5 separate regions of the Homo sapiens genome follow, and regions 2, 3, 4 and 5 are each linked to region 1. The links are contacts of gene promoters, found by promoter capture Hi-C in human tissues and cell types (Jung and others, 2019). All regions are on one chromosome and are shown on one strand. Each heading gives the region's core, a stretch centred on a gene start or on the middle of the fragment in contact. The rest is flanking DNA. Distances are from core to core; before and after follow the strand shown. Region 1 holds the start of AP5B1 (adaptor related protein complex 5 subunit beta 1). Region 2 holds the start of CATSPER1 (cation channel sperm associated 1). Region 3 holds the start of SART1 (spliceosome associated factor 1, recruiter of U4/U6.U5 tri-snRNP). Region 4 holds the start of TSGA10IP (testis specific 10 interacting protein). Region 5 holds the start of C11orf68 (chromosome 11 open reading frame 68).

Region 1 (3,026 bases), core at 210-2,709:
CCGGGGATGTGCAGTTACCAGCACCCTCTGGGCTCAGACAGAGAAACCAGACTGGCTCCTACTGCAGGCTGCCTCCCCTCCCCAGGGCTGCTCTCATCCTGCCTCTTTCATCTTGGGTTTAATTAGCCAGGCTGCCTCACCCCACAGCCTCTTGGGTGGGAGTTATCACTCCCATTTTATAGATGGGGAAACTGAGGCACCTAGAGGGAAGTAGTTTGGGGCTGCTGCCTGTGAGTCAACTGTGGAGCCAGGGCCTAGAGGAGCCGGGACCGGGCCTTCTGGCTGGACCTGTCCCTCCGAGTGGGTCTCTATCTCTCCATCCCCAAGGGCACCCAGACAGCCTCCTTTTTGGCACTCTCCACCCCTCAACTCTCCACCACCTCCCATCTGGAGCAGGATGGGGTAGGGAGAGGCCAGCTGGCACTGGCTTGCATGGGGGCTCAGGCCTGTTTCATCTTCAAAGCGGCTAATTGGAGCCAGAGGGGTGGTGAGGTTTGGGCGCCGGCGGTTCTGTGCCCTGGAAACCGGTGGTCTGTGGGGCACCTGCAACCTGGGCCTCTGGCCTGGGAGAGACCGCCGCCCAGACCCCCGAATGCCCCCAAACAGCCAGAATCCAGCCCACTGAAGTCTGGAGTGCTGGGTTCCGGCCCGGCTTGGCCCCAGATCTCGGTTGGCAAGGCCGCCCTCCTCCTGGGCCTGTTTTCCCCATCGCTAGGCATGCCTCGAGCCCCGTGACCGGCCAGGCCCTGACAGCCCGCACTTCCCGAGTATGGATCCCGTTGTTTTCGACTTAGGGCCCTGCCCCGCCCTCGCCGTCACGACCCCTGCGGGCCGCCAGCGCGGCCTCGGGCAAACAAAGGTCAGAAGCTCCTGGCTGGCCGCAACCGCGGCGCCGGCTCCTCGCCCCCAAGCCGAGCGGGCTGGGGGCCCGGGCAGGCGTCAGGGAAGCGAAGCCAAGCCCTGCGGCGCCCGCCGGACCGGTTCAGCTGGGGCGCTTTTCCTGCGGGCGCCCTGCGACCGCACCTTGGTCACCCCCAGGGGCCACTCCGGGAGCCCCAGGACCCGCACCCACGCCCCCCGGGGCCGCGCGTCTGGCGCAGGGTGCGGTGTGCCCGGGCGCCGGCGGGGGGCGCGCTGGCTGCCGCCCTGCGCGGCTTGGCGGGCGCTGGTGGGACCGGGCCGCTGTCCGCCGAGGGCCGCGGGATCGCAGCCCTGCGCCGCGGTACCCGGCATCTGGGGCCCAGGCCCACCCCGCTCCGCCACCCCTACCCACTCCCCTCCGCCTTTCCTGCCCCGGCCTGCGGCGGTTTCGGGGAAGGGGGCCTGCGCGGCGGGACAGTTAGTCAGCCCCCGCGAAACCTGCGAGTCGACACCTGCGGGAGGCGGTGGCCCCGTTACGCCCCGCCCCTCCCCGCCCGGACTCGGCCGCCCCCGCGCCGCGCCCCGCCCCGCGCCGCCAGCCCGGAAGGAGCCGGCCGGCCTGAGTGCCCGCGGCGGCTGAGTCAGGCGGCGAGCGCGGCCCGTTACCGCCGGCGCCGGGGGCCGGGGTGGCGCTGTGGTTTCGGTGCGGGCCGCGGGCGGGAGGGAGGCGGCCTAACGAGCTCTCGGCACGCACCCTCCCCCGCCCTGCTCCTGTCCTGTCCCGCGAGGGCCCCGGCGCCCAGCTCTGGCGTCGGCCCCGAGAGCCCTGGTCTCACCGTGGGAGCCGGGCGCGGGTCCCGCCGGCATCTGCGCGGCGTCTGGGGGTGACCGCAGCCCCTCGGGGTCGGCAGCGGGCCCCGCGCTCCCGGTGGCTGCGGCCTGAGGGTCCCTCTTCCCTGCGCAGGGGCCCGCGCGCCTCACCATGGGGCCCCTGAGCCGGGACGCCTGGGCCCAGCGCTTGGGGGCCTTCCGGGCCAGCCCGTCTGCCTTCATGGCAGGTCCCGAGGGGGAGGATTTGGGTCGCGACCTGCTGAGCGACCTGAGAAGTGAGAAGCTGAGCGAACAGACCAAGGTAGGCCCCCACGCGTCCCCTGCGCCGTTCCGCAGGGTCACCCCAGCCCGCCGCGTCATGAACCTCATCTTCGTGATTCCCTCCTAATCCCCCATCCAGGTTTCCCTGCTGGCCCTGAGCATGGAGTACCCTGCGCAGCTGTGGCCCGACGCCTCTGCGGCCGAAGTGGCCGCCACCTCCCTGTTGGACACCTTGGTCCTCCTACCCCCGCGGCCCTCAGCTCTCCGTCGGCCACTGCTGCTGGCGGCCACCACTGCCCTGGCGGCGGGCGGCGCGCTGGGCCCCACCTCGGGCGCCTCCTGCCGGCTCCTGCCCCTACTGCTCGGCCTGGCCGCGGGTAGCGATCTGGGGCGAGGCTTTGTCCCCGCCTCGGAACAGCGCCCCTTGCAGGCCACGGCCTGCGAGTGCCTGCGAGAGCTAGAGAGCTGCAAGCCCGGGCTGCTGGGGGGCTCCCTGGGGTTGCTGCGGGGCCTGCTGGGGCAGGAAGGCCCTGTCCAGCCACTCAGCCTGTTGCTGGCCCTCGCTTTGCGCAACACCTTGGTGCTCCAGTCCCGGGTTGGGGCTGGCCTGGGGGGACTGCTCACGGATAAGGTCTCCCCAACTGGGGGTGGTCCCTGGGATTGGACACTAGTGGAGGAGGGCGATGGACGCCTTCAGCCCCAGGCACCCAGCTGGCCGGCAGCTGAGGAGGGAGAGGGGGAGCGTAGCCTTACAGCACGAGAGCACAGCCCTGAGGAGGCGCGGGAGCTGCGGGCTGCGGTGATCCAGCTTCTGGACACCTCCTATCTGCTCACTCCTGTGGCCCAGGCCCAGCTCCTGTGGCTGCTGGGCTGGGCCCTGCGGGGTCTGCAGGGACAGCCACCGGCACTCTTCAAGCCGCAGCTGGTACGGCTGCTAGGCACAGCACAGCTGACACTGTTGCACGCCATGCTTGCGCTCAAGGCGGCCTTTGGTGAGGCCTTGTTCACAGCCCAGGATGAAGCGTTGCTGCTCCGCCGGCTCACCTTGGCTGCCCAGCACCCTGCTCTGCCTC
Region 2 (3,026 bases), core at 527-3,026, 250 kb before region 1:
TACCATGTGGGGCTATTGTGAGGATTAAATTTAATGTGTATGGGCCGGGCACGGTGGCGCATGCCTGTAATCCCAGCACTTTGGGTTGTCGAGGCGGGCAGATCGTTTGAGATCAGGAGTTCGAGACCAGCCTGACCAACAGGGTGAAACCCCATCTCTACTAAAATACAAAAGAAGTTAGCTGGGCGTAGTGGTGCACGCCTGTACTTTCAGCTACTTGGGAGACTGAGGCAGGAGAATTGCTTGAATTCAGGAGGTGGAGGTTGCTGTGAGCTGAGACCATGCCACTGCACTCCACCCTAGGTGACAGAGCAAGACTGTGTCTCAAAAAAAAAAAAAGAAAGAAAGAAAACAAAATGTGTATGAAGCAATCCTCAATAAATGATGGCTGATAGTTTAATTTTGGTAATAACCCTAAAGGGGGGTTCCAAGATCAAGAAGAGAATAATAATGCCAATTAACATGTATTGGCCAGGCATGGTGGCTCACACCTGAAATCCCAGCACTTAGGGAGTGCGAGGTGGGTGGATCATTTGAGGTCAGGAGTTCAAGAGCAGCCTCGTCAACATGGTGAAACCCCGTCTCTACTAAAAATACAAAAATTAGCTGGGTGTGGTGTGCACCTGTAGTCGCAGCTACTAGGAAAGCTGAGGCAGGAGAATTGCCTGAACCCAGGAGGCAGAGATTGCAGTGAGCCAAGATTGCACCCCGGCACTCCAGCCTAGTGACAGAGTAAGACTCTGTCTCAAAAAAAAAAAAAAAAAAATTAGCCGGGGTGGGGTATGGTGGTGGGTGGCTGTAATCCCAGCTACTCAGGGGGCTAAGGCAGGAGGCTCACTTGAACCTGGGAGGCAGAGATTGCCATGAGTGGAGATCATGCCGCTGCACTCCAGCCTGGGTGACAGTGAGACTGTCTCAAAAAACAAAAACAAAAACAAAAAAACATGGGCTGGGCGCAGTGGCTCACACCTGTAATCCCAACACTTTGGAAGGGCAAGGCAGGCGGATCACGAGGTCAGGAGATCAAGACCATTCTGGCTAACATGGTGAAACCCCGTCTCTACTAAAAATAGAAAAAGTTAGCCGGGCGTGGTGGTGGGCGCCTGTAGTCCCAGCTACTTGGGAGGCTGAGGCAGGAAAATGGCATGAAGCTGGGAGGTGGAGGTTGCAGTGAGTCAAGATCGTGCCACTGCACTCCAGCCTGGGCGACAGAGCGAGACTCCATCTCAAAAACAAACAAAGAAACAAACAACAACAACAACAACAAAAACCATGTATTATGCTGTTAATATAAGGCTTACATATCTTAACTTTTTTGATCCTGTGGGCTAGGTATTATTATTCCCATTTTACAGAGGAAGAAACTGAGGCACGGGAAAGTTCAGCAACAAGCCCAAGGTCACACACCTACTTATGAGGGAGTCAGGCAGTCTTCACCCCAGAGCCAGCTGATCTCTAGATGGGACTGAAGACTGGACCACTTGGACCATTTTCTTTCCAACAACAGGGCTAAAGTAGCTGATGAAGCCATGGCGCCCCCATGGACTTCTTTGTCCAGCTTTGCCAGTGACCTGTGAGGTCACCTTGGTCTAGTCCTTCCCTTTTCTTGACCTCGGTTTCCTCATTTACAATGAAGGAGTTTGACACAATAATTCTTGATTCCGAACTATAGCCCAGGAAGAGGCATTTGGGAATGAGGCCCTGGCCTGCTGGTGACATCATAGAGGGGAGAGTTCCACGAGAATAGTCAGGCCTTTCTGGAAGCCCAGTGCCACAGTCTGCATTGAGCTTGGCTCAGGAAAGAAGGGAAATCCAGGCGGGGCCTGTTGGGCCCAGGTCTTGAGCTCTTTTGGCTCCAGAGTTCCCAGCACAGTCATGGATCAAAACTCAGTGCCTGAAAAGGCTCAGAATGAGGCAGACACCAATAACGCAGATAGGTTCTTTCGCTCTCACTCATCACCCCCACACCACAGGCCAGGCCACAGCAGAGCTCTCCACCATTACGAGTTGCACCATCACGGCGTGCCCCACCAACGTGGTGAATCTCACCACCCTCCGGAGTTCCAAGACTTCCACGACCAAGCCTTGTCCTCCCATGTCCACCAATCTCACCACCACAGCGAGGCACGGAATCACGGCAGAGCCCATGGCCCCACAGGCTTTGGTCTGGCTCCCTCTCAAGGCGCCGTCCCCTCCCACCGTTCCTACGGTGAGGACTACCATGATGAGCTCCAACGTGATGGCAGGAGGCATCATGATGGGTCCCAATACGGTGGGTTCCATCAGCAGAGTGACTCCCATTACCATAGGGGGTCTCACCATGGCAGACCCCAATATCTCGGTGAGAATTTATCCCACTATTCCTCTGGCGTGCCCCACCACGGTGAGGCTTCCCACCATGGTGGGTCCTACCTCCCCCATGGACCCAATCCCTACAGTGAGTCCTTCCACCACAGCGAGGCTTCCCACCTTAGCGGGCTCCAACACGATGAGTCCCAGCATCACCAAGTCCCCCACCGTGGCTGGCCCCACCATCACCAAGTCCACCACCATGGCAGGTCCCGTCATCATGAAGCCCACCAGCATGGAAAGTCTCCTCATCACGGAGAGACCATTTCCCCTCATTCCTCTGTGGGGTCCTACCAGCGTGGGATATCTGACTATCACAGCGAGTACCACCAAGGTGATCACCACCCCAGTGAGTACCACCATGGCGACCATCCCCACCACACACAGCACCACTACCACCAGACCCACCGGCACCGAGACTACCATCAGCACCAAGACCACCACGGCGCGTATCATTCCAGTTACCTCCATGGCGACTACGTCCAGAGCACTTCCCAACTCTCTATCCCACACACATCCCGGAGCCTGATTCACGATGCCCCCGGCCCTGCTGCTTCTCGTACAGGAGTCTTCCCCTATCACGTAGCACACCCACGGGGCTCGGCTCACAGCATGACTCGGTCCTCCAGCACAATCCGCTCACGTGTCACCCAGATGTCCAAAAAAGTCCATACCCA
Region 3 (3,026 bases), core at 278-2,777, 180 kb before region 1:
ACTCTCTTCCCAAAGTTCCCATGACACAAAGGTTTTCCTGCCTTTTTGGTTACTCTGTCTCCTTTTTTTGGTAACATCTTTCTCTGCCTACTACTAACATAAGGGCATTTCTCAGGTTCTAGTCCTGACCCCCTCTTCTCATGTCACAGTCTTTCAGGGGCTTCACTGGCCACCCAGATACTGACTCCCAATGGCTTTATCCAGTCCAAACTCTGGATTTCCCCATTACCATCAACCTTGACAACCCCAAAAGTGAACTATCTCCCCCCACCCCCGCTCCAAATCTGCTTCTCTTCCCTACTCCTCAATTTCAGTAGAAATGACACCCACTACCTATCTGGCTGCTCAAGCCAAAATTCAAGGAGTCATCCTCCATTCCTTCTTCCCACCCTCATACAAGTGCTGAGTTCTGTTCATTCCTCCTCCAAAACACCTCTCCAACCTGTCCACTTCTCTCAATCCCACTGCTGCTGCCTTGGTGCAGGCCACCATCAGCCCTCCCCTGGCCTATAGCCCTCCTGGTTTCCTGGTCTCCAGTCCTGACTACCTTTGACTAAATTCTCAATCCAGTGATGTTTACAAAATACGGATCTGAGCAACTCACTCCTCAACTCACATCCATGGCTCCCTACTATCCTCAAGACAATCTACAGTTCTTAACAGAGACTACAGTACAGGGTCCTTTGTGTTCACATCCCTGTCTATCTTACTCCCTCATTTCTCTACCATGCGCCCTACACGATTCGTCCAATACCAGGTTTTTCTTGCCTCTGTATATGCTGACACTACTTCATTCACTCATTCAACATATTTATTGAGAATCTGATTGTACCAGACAACTGAGGAAAACAGAAGCCCTCTGTCCTCAAGCAGCTGAGTGGAGAAAGTCAACCTCTAATCCTAAACAACCGTAGAAAGACTTTTTTCTTTTTGAGACAGAGTCTCGCTTTGTTGCCCAGGCTGGAGTACACTGGCGGGACCGCAGCTCACTGCAGCCTCTAACTCCTGGGCTCAAGGGATCCCGTAGAAAGACTATTTAATAGAGCTGGTAAACAGCTTGGGGGTTTCCTGGCCTGAAGAGCTTCGCTGACACTGCGCGCACACCCAGACCCACGCGTTCCGGGACCCCCGCCCGACCCGCCCCCTGCGCAGGCCCCGCCTCCTCACCGGCCTCGTAGCCGTCATCGCGCTTCTCCCGCTTCACGCGCCGCTCGGAGGGCTCTGCCTGGCTGCGCTCCCGCCCGTGCGTGCTGCTCCGGGCCTCAGCTTCGGCCCCGCGCCGCCCGCTCCCGCGCTCGCCCCCACGTTCCCGGCTCCGCTTCCGTCGTTCGCCACCGCTACCGCCACTGCCGCCACTCCGGTGCTTGTGTTTTTTGTGTTCCCGGTGCCGCGGCGGCTGCTCGGTGGCACCCCCGGTGCCGGCCGCCGCCGTCGTCCCGGCCGCCTCCTTCTCTCCGCGATGCTTCTTGGACGACCCCATAGTGGCACGTCCACTCCGAGCCCGGCTGCCGCCGAGCCCAGACAACGCAAAATGGGAATACTTCCGGGTCGCTCGGCAGCCGCTGTCGTGTTGCCGGAAACTAAGAGCGGCTGCTTCCGTCGCTCGCCTTGGAGCCTGCCCCAGAGGCTCATGGGAAGGCCGGGATCAGCGCTCGACTGCACATTCGCGCCGTCTCGGGTCGGGTGGGTTCTTTGAGCGAGTGGTCCCATTGCGCATGCGCTCCTCAAGGGAAGCGGAATTAACCCGGAGGTGGGATCCCAGAACTGGAAGGACTTAGAGCCCATTAAGTCAGTGTCTTCGTGGCTTTAAGTTCCTCCCCGGCCTCCCTGCGCTTGCACTTCACCGGCAACGGGGTGTTCACTACCTCACGGTCTTTCCGTAGACACCTCCCTCCTACAATGGGCGCTCGCTTAGTGGACTCCTAGGGTCGTGGCTCCAACGGGTGTTGTTTTCCCGAGATCTCCAATTCCACAGCCCAGCTTCAGACCCGCTATAACCAGTATCGTCAGGGAACGCTTCCTTCCCACGTTCCCTGTTTTGTTTTGTTTTGTTTTTTCCCTTGAGATAGGATCTCACTCTGTTGCTCAGGCTGGAGTGCAGTGGCGTGATCACAGCGCACTGCAGCCTCGACCTCCTGGGCTCAAGTGATCCTCCCACCTCAGCCTTCCCAGTAGCTGGGACTACGAGAGTACGCTACCACGCCCCTTTAATTTTTGTATTTTTTTGTAGATGGTTGGTGGGGAGCGGGGGTAGGGGGTGGGGTCACTATGTTGGCCAGGCTGGTCTCGAACTCCTGAGCTCAGGCTATACACCCGCCTTGGCCTCCCAAAGTGCTGAGATTACAGGCATGCGCCACTGCGCCTGGCCCTGGATTGGATTTTTAAAACCTGGCCCCGTGAACTGTTAAGATTGTTTAGGAGCTCCACATGGGCGTCAGTGTATCCCTGGAACCCCTGAAATTGAATGCAAAATGTGGCACATCTGTGTGTATGAGTTTTTTTCTTGAGGAGACCAGCCCTAACTTAAAACTATTGGGACTTAAAACCCCAGTGCAGGCCGGGCGCGGTGGCTCACGCCTGTAATCCCAGCACTTTGGGAGGCCAAGGCAGGCGAATCACGAGGTCAAGAGATCGAGACCATCCTGGCCTACATGGTAAAACCCCGTCTCTACTAAAAATACAAAAATTAGCTGGGTGTGGTGGCGCACACCTGTAGTCCCAGCTACTCAGGAGGCTGAGGCAGGAGAATCGCTTGAACCTGGGAGGCAGAGGTTGCAGTGAGTTGAGATCACACCATTGCACTCCGGCCTGGTGACAGAGCGAGACTCTGTCTTAAAAAAAAAAAAAAAAAGCGCAGTGCACACAATCCCAATCTCTCCTGAAACCCCTCCCCTCACCCAGTGGTTGCTCAGTCTGTGGCTCCCTGTGTGGCACAACTCAGCATGTGTTAGGCTATGTTGTATGCGCCCCTTTAAGGATCCACCCCCTCTCCCACTCACTGGGCGTCCTCAGAGGCAGGAGTCATT
Region 4 (3,026 bases), core at 395-2,894, 160 kb before region 1:
GGCGAAACCCCATCTGTACTAAAAATACAAAAAAAATTAGCCGAGTGTGGTGGCCTGCGCCTGTAATCCTAGCTACTTGGGAGGCTGAGGCAGGACAATCGCTTGAACCTAGGAGTTGGAGGCTGCAGTGAGCCGAGATTGTGTCATTGCACTCCAGCCTGGGCAACAAGAGTGAAACTCCATCTCAAAAAAACAAACAAACAAAAAAACCCGACCGAGCACCACCTCCGTTCTGCATATTAAAATAGCAACAGCTGCCACCTGCTGAGCACCTATTGTGTGCTCAGGACTTTCATGCATAAACACACGTAACCTTCCCAAGGACCCTAGGAGGCCGGTACTCACTATCACCTCCATCATGTGGAGGAGAAAGCTGAGGCTCAGAGAGGCTGAGTAACTGAGGTCACACAGCTGGGAAGTGGTGGAGCCCAGATTTGTCACCATTGCGCTAGGCCACCTCTGGGCCCTGGACTGCACTCCCAAATGTCCCACTGGGCCCTGGACCTGCTACAGCCAAGGCAGAAACCAAGGTGGTCTTCATCAAGGTGGTCTTCATCTTTCCTGAAACCTGCTCCTTCCGCAGTGTTCCCTGAATGGCCCCATCATCCCTGGGAGTCACTCCTGGGCGTCATCCCTCGGCTTCTCCCAAGGCCCTTAGGCCTCCCTGTGGTCCCTGTCCCACTCCTGCCTCCCTGAGTTTCATCTGGACCTCAGCTCAGGTCTTGTGGCTTCTCAAGGGCCTCCCCAGCCCAGGCCTCCCTGACCCACCTGGCTCTAGGCAGCTGGAAGTGTCCTCACTGGGCCTCCCTCACCTGCTTGTCCTGAGAGACGGTCGACAGCAGCTTGAGCAGCCCCGTTCTGGTTCCTGGAGCCTGGAGCCGCACGTCCTGCCCTGGTCGCACCGACGGGGTCCTAACCAACTGTTGGTAGGTATTTAGCATATCGGTGTCCTGCCCCATCCTGCCCCATCCCCCATCCGCACCGTAGAACTGCCTAACAGGCCATCTCTATGGCAACCAGTCCTCAGCCAGTCTCAATGGGTCTGGCAAAAAGCATGCTAGGAAGGGGTCAGTGGGGTATGTGAGGCCAATCTCCTTCTGGGAGAGAGTTCAGCAGGATGCCCAGGAGTCATTTAGCGCAGAGACCCAGGCCCAAGTCCTGCCTCTGCCTCATCCACAGGCTCCCCGTGTGACCTGGTGTAAGTCCCCTGTCCCTACTCTGCCTGTGTTTCCCCATCCATCTGTACAGGGGAGTCAGCCTGTCTCCTGTGCTGCCCCCCGGCCTGGCCGAGTCCCTGAAGGAGCCAAACTGAACTTTCACAAGATTTTATTTAAATCCTTGCACTCCCAGGCTGGGAGTGGTGGCTCACACCTGTAATCCCAGCACTTTGGGGGGCTGAGGCAGGTGGATCACTGGAGGTCAAGAGTTCAAGACCAGCCTGGCCAAAATGGCAAAACCCCATCTCTACCAAAAATGCAAAAAAGATTAGCCAGGCCTGGTGGCGCATGCCTGTAATCCCAGCTACTCAGGCTGAGGCACGAGAATCACTTGAACCCGGGAGGCAGAGGCTGCATCGACCCCAGATTGCACCACTGCACTCCAGCCAGGGCGACAGAGTGAGACTCTGTCTCAATAAAAAAGAAACAAATAAACAAATCTTTGCACTCCCAGCCCCAGCCAGGAAGTTGAATGCTGTGTCCAGGAGAGAGGCAGCAGGCCATTCAGAGCCTGGGCCCAGGCCCACCTGGCCATCTTCATAGGCCATGAGGTTCTGGAGGGAGTTACAACATTGAAAGCTTACCCCAGGCCGGGCAGTGGCTGTAATTCCAGCACTTTGGGAGGCCGAGGTGGGCGGATTGCCTGAGGTCAGGAGTTGGAGACCAGCCTGGCCAACATGGTGAAACCCCATCTCCCACCTGGATTGAAACTCTATCTCTACTAAAAATACAAAAATTAGCCGGGCATGGTGGTGGGCACCTGTAATCCCAGCTACTCGGGAGGCTGAGGCTCTCCCTCTCCGGGTTCTCTTGAACCCGGGAGGTGGAGGTTGCAGTGAGCCGAGGCCACACCAGTGTACTCCAGCCTGGGCGAAAGAGTGAGACTCCATCTCAAAAAAATATATTTTTTTAATATAAAAAAAGTAAAAGATCTTACCCCAAACTTCTAGCAGTGCTCAAAAGCCTTGGAATCTTAAGTCCCCATGGGACGCCTGGTGCTGACCACTGAGGCTTGCAGTACAGGGATGTGGTGCTGAGCTGAGGCCCTGGAGACGGACCAACTGGGCTGGAGGCCTGGTCTCACTAGCTCTGTGACCAACTCCCCACTCTGCAAAACTGGAATCACGGGCCCAGCTCATAGGTTTGTTGCAAGGACTACATGAAACCCCAAACGATGACATCGGTAAATGTTATTATTACTAACACTAGCTGGCCGTTCTTTTGAGGCAGCAGAGCATCATGGCTAAGAGCATAGAGGAAGCGCTTGGGTGCAAATCCCAGCTCCTCCACTTGTCCCGTACCCTCTCGGTGCCTGTTTTCTCATAGGCAATGGGGAGGGGATGGTTATAATCGGATCTACTCCCAGGGTAGTGGTAAGGATTAAATCACTATGCAGATACAAACAGAACATCCTCATGGCTCATGGGAACTGCTATGTTAGCATTGCTGTTATTCTTATTATCTTTTTTTTTTCTTTTTGTGATGGAGTCTTGCTCTGTTGCCCAGGCTGGAGTGCAGTGATGTGATCTCGGCTCACTGCAACCTCTGCCTCCTGGGTTCAAGCGATTCTCCCACCTCAGCCTCCCGGGTAACTAGGATTACAGGCATGTGCCACCATGCCCGGCTAATTTTTTGTATTTTTAGTAGAGAGAGGGTTTCACCATGTTGGCCAGGCTGGTCTTGAACTCCTGACCTCAAGTGATCCACCCACCTTGGCCTCCCAAAGTGCTGGGATTACAGGTGTGAGCCACTGCACCGGGCCGTGTTGCTGTTATTAATTAATCAATGATGTGGCCCCAGGGAAGCAGA
Region 5 (3,026 bases), core at 320-2,819, 140 kb before region 1:
TGTCCTTGCTTTTCGTTCCCATCCCACCGTTCTTCCGGCCGCCGCTGCCTGGCTTCCGGCCCCTTTGGGAAGGTACAGTCCATCTGCCCGGAGTGCTCCCTACTCCTTGGCCACCCCCAAGCCCTGTGGCCTTGGCCTTCCCCACTGTATGCCAGGCCCTGGCCCCACCTGCGGGCGCCCTTGTCCCCATCCATGTGGTTGTCTTCCCCGTCCCCCTGCATGTCGGGAACAGATGCCACCAGGTCCTTCAAGAAGTCAAACTGCTGCTCCAGCTCGATGCACTGCTTCCTGGAAGAGGTGAGGAGGGGCTGGCACTCAAGAGGGGCCCAGACACCCAAACCCGCAGTGGGTGGCAGCAAGGGGCCCCAGATGTCAGGCTGGAGCCCGGGCCGATCTCCGCTCCCGGGCCTGCCCTGCTTTACTCAGGTGGCTCCCTCTGCCTGGAAGCCCAGCCTCTCCTCTGCCAGTCTGTGGCCTTGCTGGTGTCCCGGCTGCCGCCCACCTCCCTCGCCACCCAGGCTCTGCCTTCCTCAGTGTGTGAACTCCCCGCGCCAAACCCGCCGGCCCCTCCCGGCTCCTCGCCGCTCACAGGTGGGATGTGGTCATGGTCTTCGCGTTCCGCGACTGGGTCACCTGGCAGGCCTTCTTCAACAGCGACTCTAGGAAGAGCTCGAGCGCCCGGGCTGAGGAGCGTCAAGGAGAACTCCGGGGCAGGAGAGGGCGACCCGCTGCCTCCCTCCCCCACGCCCCTCGACCCGGTCCGCCCCCGGCAGGATACAGATGATGACAGGCACCGCCGCCGCCACCTTCCCAATCTCTTCGTCCGTCTGCATGATCTTCTTGATCCGCGCCTGCGGGTGGGGGAGCAGAGTTCAGACCCCGTCGCCACCGTCCCCTAAGGGGGTGCTGGGGGAGGAAGGGGCATCCCCGGAGAAAGGGGGCGGGGGACACGGACGCGGGGAGGGCATGGAGGGGGCGGGGCGTCCAGGCCCCCGAACACCGCGGCGCGCCCGCCTGCCCAGCGGGAACTGGGCCCAAGCCACCCGGGAGCCGGGCCCACTCCTGCCGGGCTCTGCCACGTGCTCACCGGCGGGAACCGCGCGTTGTACTTCTTCTTCTTGCTCGGCATCTCGGGGCCTCTCTCGCCGCGTCGGGTCCAGCGCCGCCGCCCGCAGCCTCCCGGCTCCCGGGCCTGCTCGCCGCCCGCCCGTCGCGGTTCCCCTGGGTCCTGGTGCCGCCCGCTCCGCCCCCGCCGTTTCCCGCGGAGTCCTAGCGCCGCCGGTTAAGACGCCGCTCGCAGGGCCCTAGTGCCCTCCTCTTGAAGCCTCCTGGCCGGTGCGCGTCCCTCCCCAGTCTGGACCGCCGCTCCCGCCCGCCCCCAAGGCCAGAAGAGCGAACGTTGGCCCCGCCCCCCGCGGCCCGCCCCTCCCGGGGTTCCCGCGATGGCCCCGCCCCCGAGTCAGCACCTCCCCGTCGGCCCCGCCCCTTCCCCTGCCGGCCCCGCCCCACAGCGCGGCCGCTGCGGCCGCTGAGGCCCGCGGCTCCGCCCTGTGGCTGCGCCTGTCTATAAAGTTGTTGTTGAGGTGGCGCGGCGCTAAGATGGCGGCGGCGGCGGCGGCGGCCGTGGCGGGGGTGGGGCGCGGTGGCGGTGGCGCGGAGCCACGGCAGGAGCGGAGCCGGGCCCGGGGCTGGGCCGGCGTCGAACGCAGCGAAGGCCGGAGGTGACTGCGGGCGGCGGGAGGGGCAGGGCAGGGCCGGGGCGGGAGCACAGCTCGGGCCCGTGGGCGTTAATGGCGGCGGGCGCGGCACGGCCGGAGCCTGGCTCTCCTGCAGGCTCTAACAAGCCCTGGTTCGAGTCTGGGAACCGCCCCATTGGCCTCGGAACGGCCTGTAACCTCTCTGGACTTCAGCGTCCTCGTCTGTAAGTGGGCCCGATAACGCCTGCCTGGGAGGCCTGGCCTTACAGAGCCGGCCTCGGGAGCTGCGCGAACGTGCGCTTCTTTGCGTTCCTCTATTAAATGCCAGCGCACCGGATACCTGCCAGGAAAAGGGGGCCTTGGCAGGGCCGGGAGGTGTAGCTGGGGCTGGTTGCTCCCACGCCTGGATTCACCCTTCGGCCCTGCCACGCACTGCAGGTGTGACCTTGGGCAAGTCCTTTTTCTCAGCCTCAGTTTCCTTTTCTGTAAGTCAAGGAGAATAGTAATAACTGCAGCAACCCTTCTGGAGCGCTGACTCCTCAGGCATCTAATTTTCATAGCAGATCTACGGGACAGGAACAGTTGTTATCCCATTGTAAAGATGAGGCAACTGAGGCGCATCGACAGTAACTCTTACTCAAGGCCACAGTTTAATCCAGTGCCTGGCATCTGTAGTTATTGTCTCAGACCCTGCCCTGACTCGGTTCCCTCACAGCAGGATGGAACCAGGTGAGGAGCTGGAAGAGGAGGGCTCTCCAGGTGGCCGTGAGGATGGCTTCACCGCCGAGCACCTGGCTGCAGAGGCCATGGCAGCTGACATGGACCCCTGGCTAGTGTTTGATGCCCGCACAACGCCTGCCACTGAGCTGGATGCCTGGCTGGCCAAGTACCCACCATCCCAAGTTACCCGCTATGGGGACCCCGGTTCACCCAACTCAGAGCCTGTGGGCTGGATTGCAGTGTATGGGCAGGGCTACAGCCCCAACTCCGGGGACGTGCAGGGCCTGCAGGCAGCCTGGGAAGCTCTGCAGACCAGTGGGCGGCCCATCACACCGGGTACCCTGCGCCAGCTCGCCATCACCCACCACGTGCTCTCGGGCAAGTGGCTTATGCATCTGGCACCGGGCTTCAAGCTGGACCACGCCTGGGCTGGCATTGCCCGGGCCGTGGTTGAAGGCCAGCTTCAGGTGGCCAAGGTGAGCCCACGTGCCAAGGAGGGTGGGCGCCAGGTCATCTGTGTTTACACGGACGACTTCACGGACCGCTTGGGTGTACTGGAGGCGGATTCAGCCATCCGTGCAGCGGGCATTAAGTGCCTGCTCACCTACA

What was found. Contacts are between HindIII fragments. The study calls those that stand out against the background at their distance.
Region 2: the fragment with the promoter of CATSPER1 here is called in contact with the fragment with the promoter of AP5B1 in region 1 in 1 of the 25 tissues and cell types used here (stomach).
Region 3: a contact is called between the fragment with the promoter of SART1 here and the fragment with the promoter of AP5B1 in region 1, in 5 of the 25 tissues and cell types used here (H1 embryonic stem cells, adrenal gland, lymphoblastoid cells and 2 more).
Region 4: a fragment that was not itself captured here is called in contact with the fragment with the promoter of AP5B1 in region 1 in 1 of the 25 tissues and cell types used here (liver).
Region 5: the fragment with the promoter of C11orf68 here is called in contact with the fragment with the promoter of AP5B1 in region 1 in 1 of the 25 tissues and cell types used here (spleen).

Annotation. Positions count from the first base shown.
Region 1 is chr11:65,779,409-65,782,434 of GRCh38, reverse strand. AP5B1 (adaptor related protein complex 5 subunit beta 1) reads left to right here and starts at 1,459. Exons shown (of 2, transcript NM_138368.5): 1 at 1,459-1,993; 2 at 2,093-3,026. The coding sequence starts at 1,844. RefSeq lists enhancers at 88-745, 1,475-2,377 and silencers at 1,006-1,745, 1,786-1,965, 2,116-2,385. The HindIII fragment of the contact is 21,769 bases long and covers 1-3,026 here.
Region 2 is chr11:66,025,229-66,028,254 of GRCh38, reverse strand. CATSPER1 (cation channel sperm associated 1) reads left to right here and starts at 1,776. Exons shown (of 12, transcript NM_053054.4): 1 at 1,776-3,026. The coding sequence starts at 1,876. The HindIII fragment of the contact is 11,043 bases long and covers 1-3,026 here.
Region 3 is chr11:65,960,235-65,963,260 of GRCh38, reverse strand. SART1 (spliceosome associated factor 1, recruiter of U4/U6.U5 tri-snRNP) reads right to left here and starts at 1,527. Exons shown (of 20, transcript NM_005146.5): 1 at 1,168-1,527. The coding sequence starts at 1,480. RefSeq lists an enhancer at 882-1,669. The HindIII fragment of the contact is 22,503 bases long and covers 1-3,026 here.
Region 4 is chr11:65,943,609-65,946,634 of GRCh38, reverse strand. TSGA10IP (testis specific 10 interacting protein) reads right to left here and starts at 1,155. Exons shown (of 8, transcript NM_152762.3): 1 at 813-1,155. The coding sequence starts at 959. LOC105369350 (a long non-coding RNA gene) reads left to right here and starts at 1,111. Exons shown (of 3, transcript XR_950212.3): 1 at 1,111-1,198. The HindIII fragment of the contact is 7,163 bases long and covers 1-3,026 here.
Region 5 is chr11:65,917,605-65,920,630 of GRCh38, reverse strand. It overlaps C11orf68 (chromosome 11 open reading frame 68), which reads left to right and starts at 1,569. Exons shown (of 2, transcript NM_001135635.2): 1 at 1,569-1,721; 2 at 2,413-3,026. The coding sequence starts at 1,600. It overlaps DRAP1 (DR1 associated protein 1), which reads right to left and starts at 1,205. Exons shown (of 7, transcript NM_006442.4): 1 at 1,088-1,205; 2 at 779-851; 3 at 590-683; 4 at 169-288; 5 at 1-62. The coding sequence starts at 1,129. RefSeq lists enhancers at 612-1,532, 1,533-2,452 and a silencer at 746-1,815. The HindIII fragment of the contact is 24,812 bases long and covers 1-3,026 here.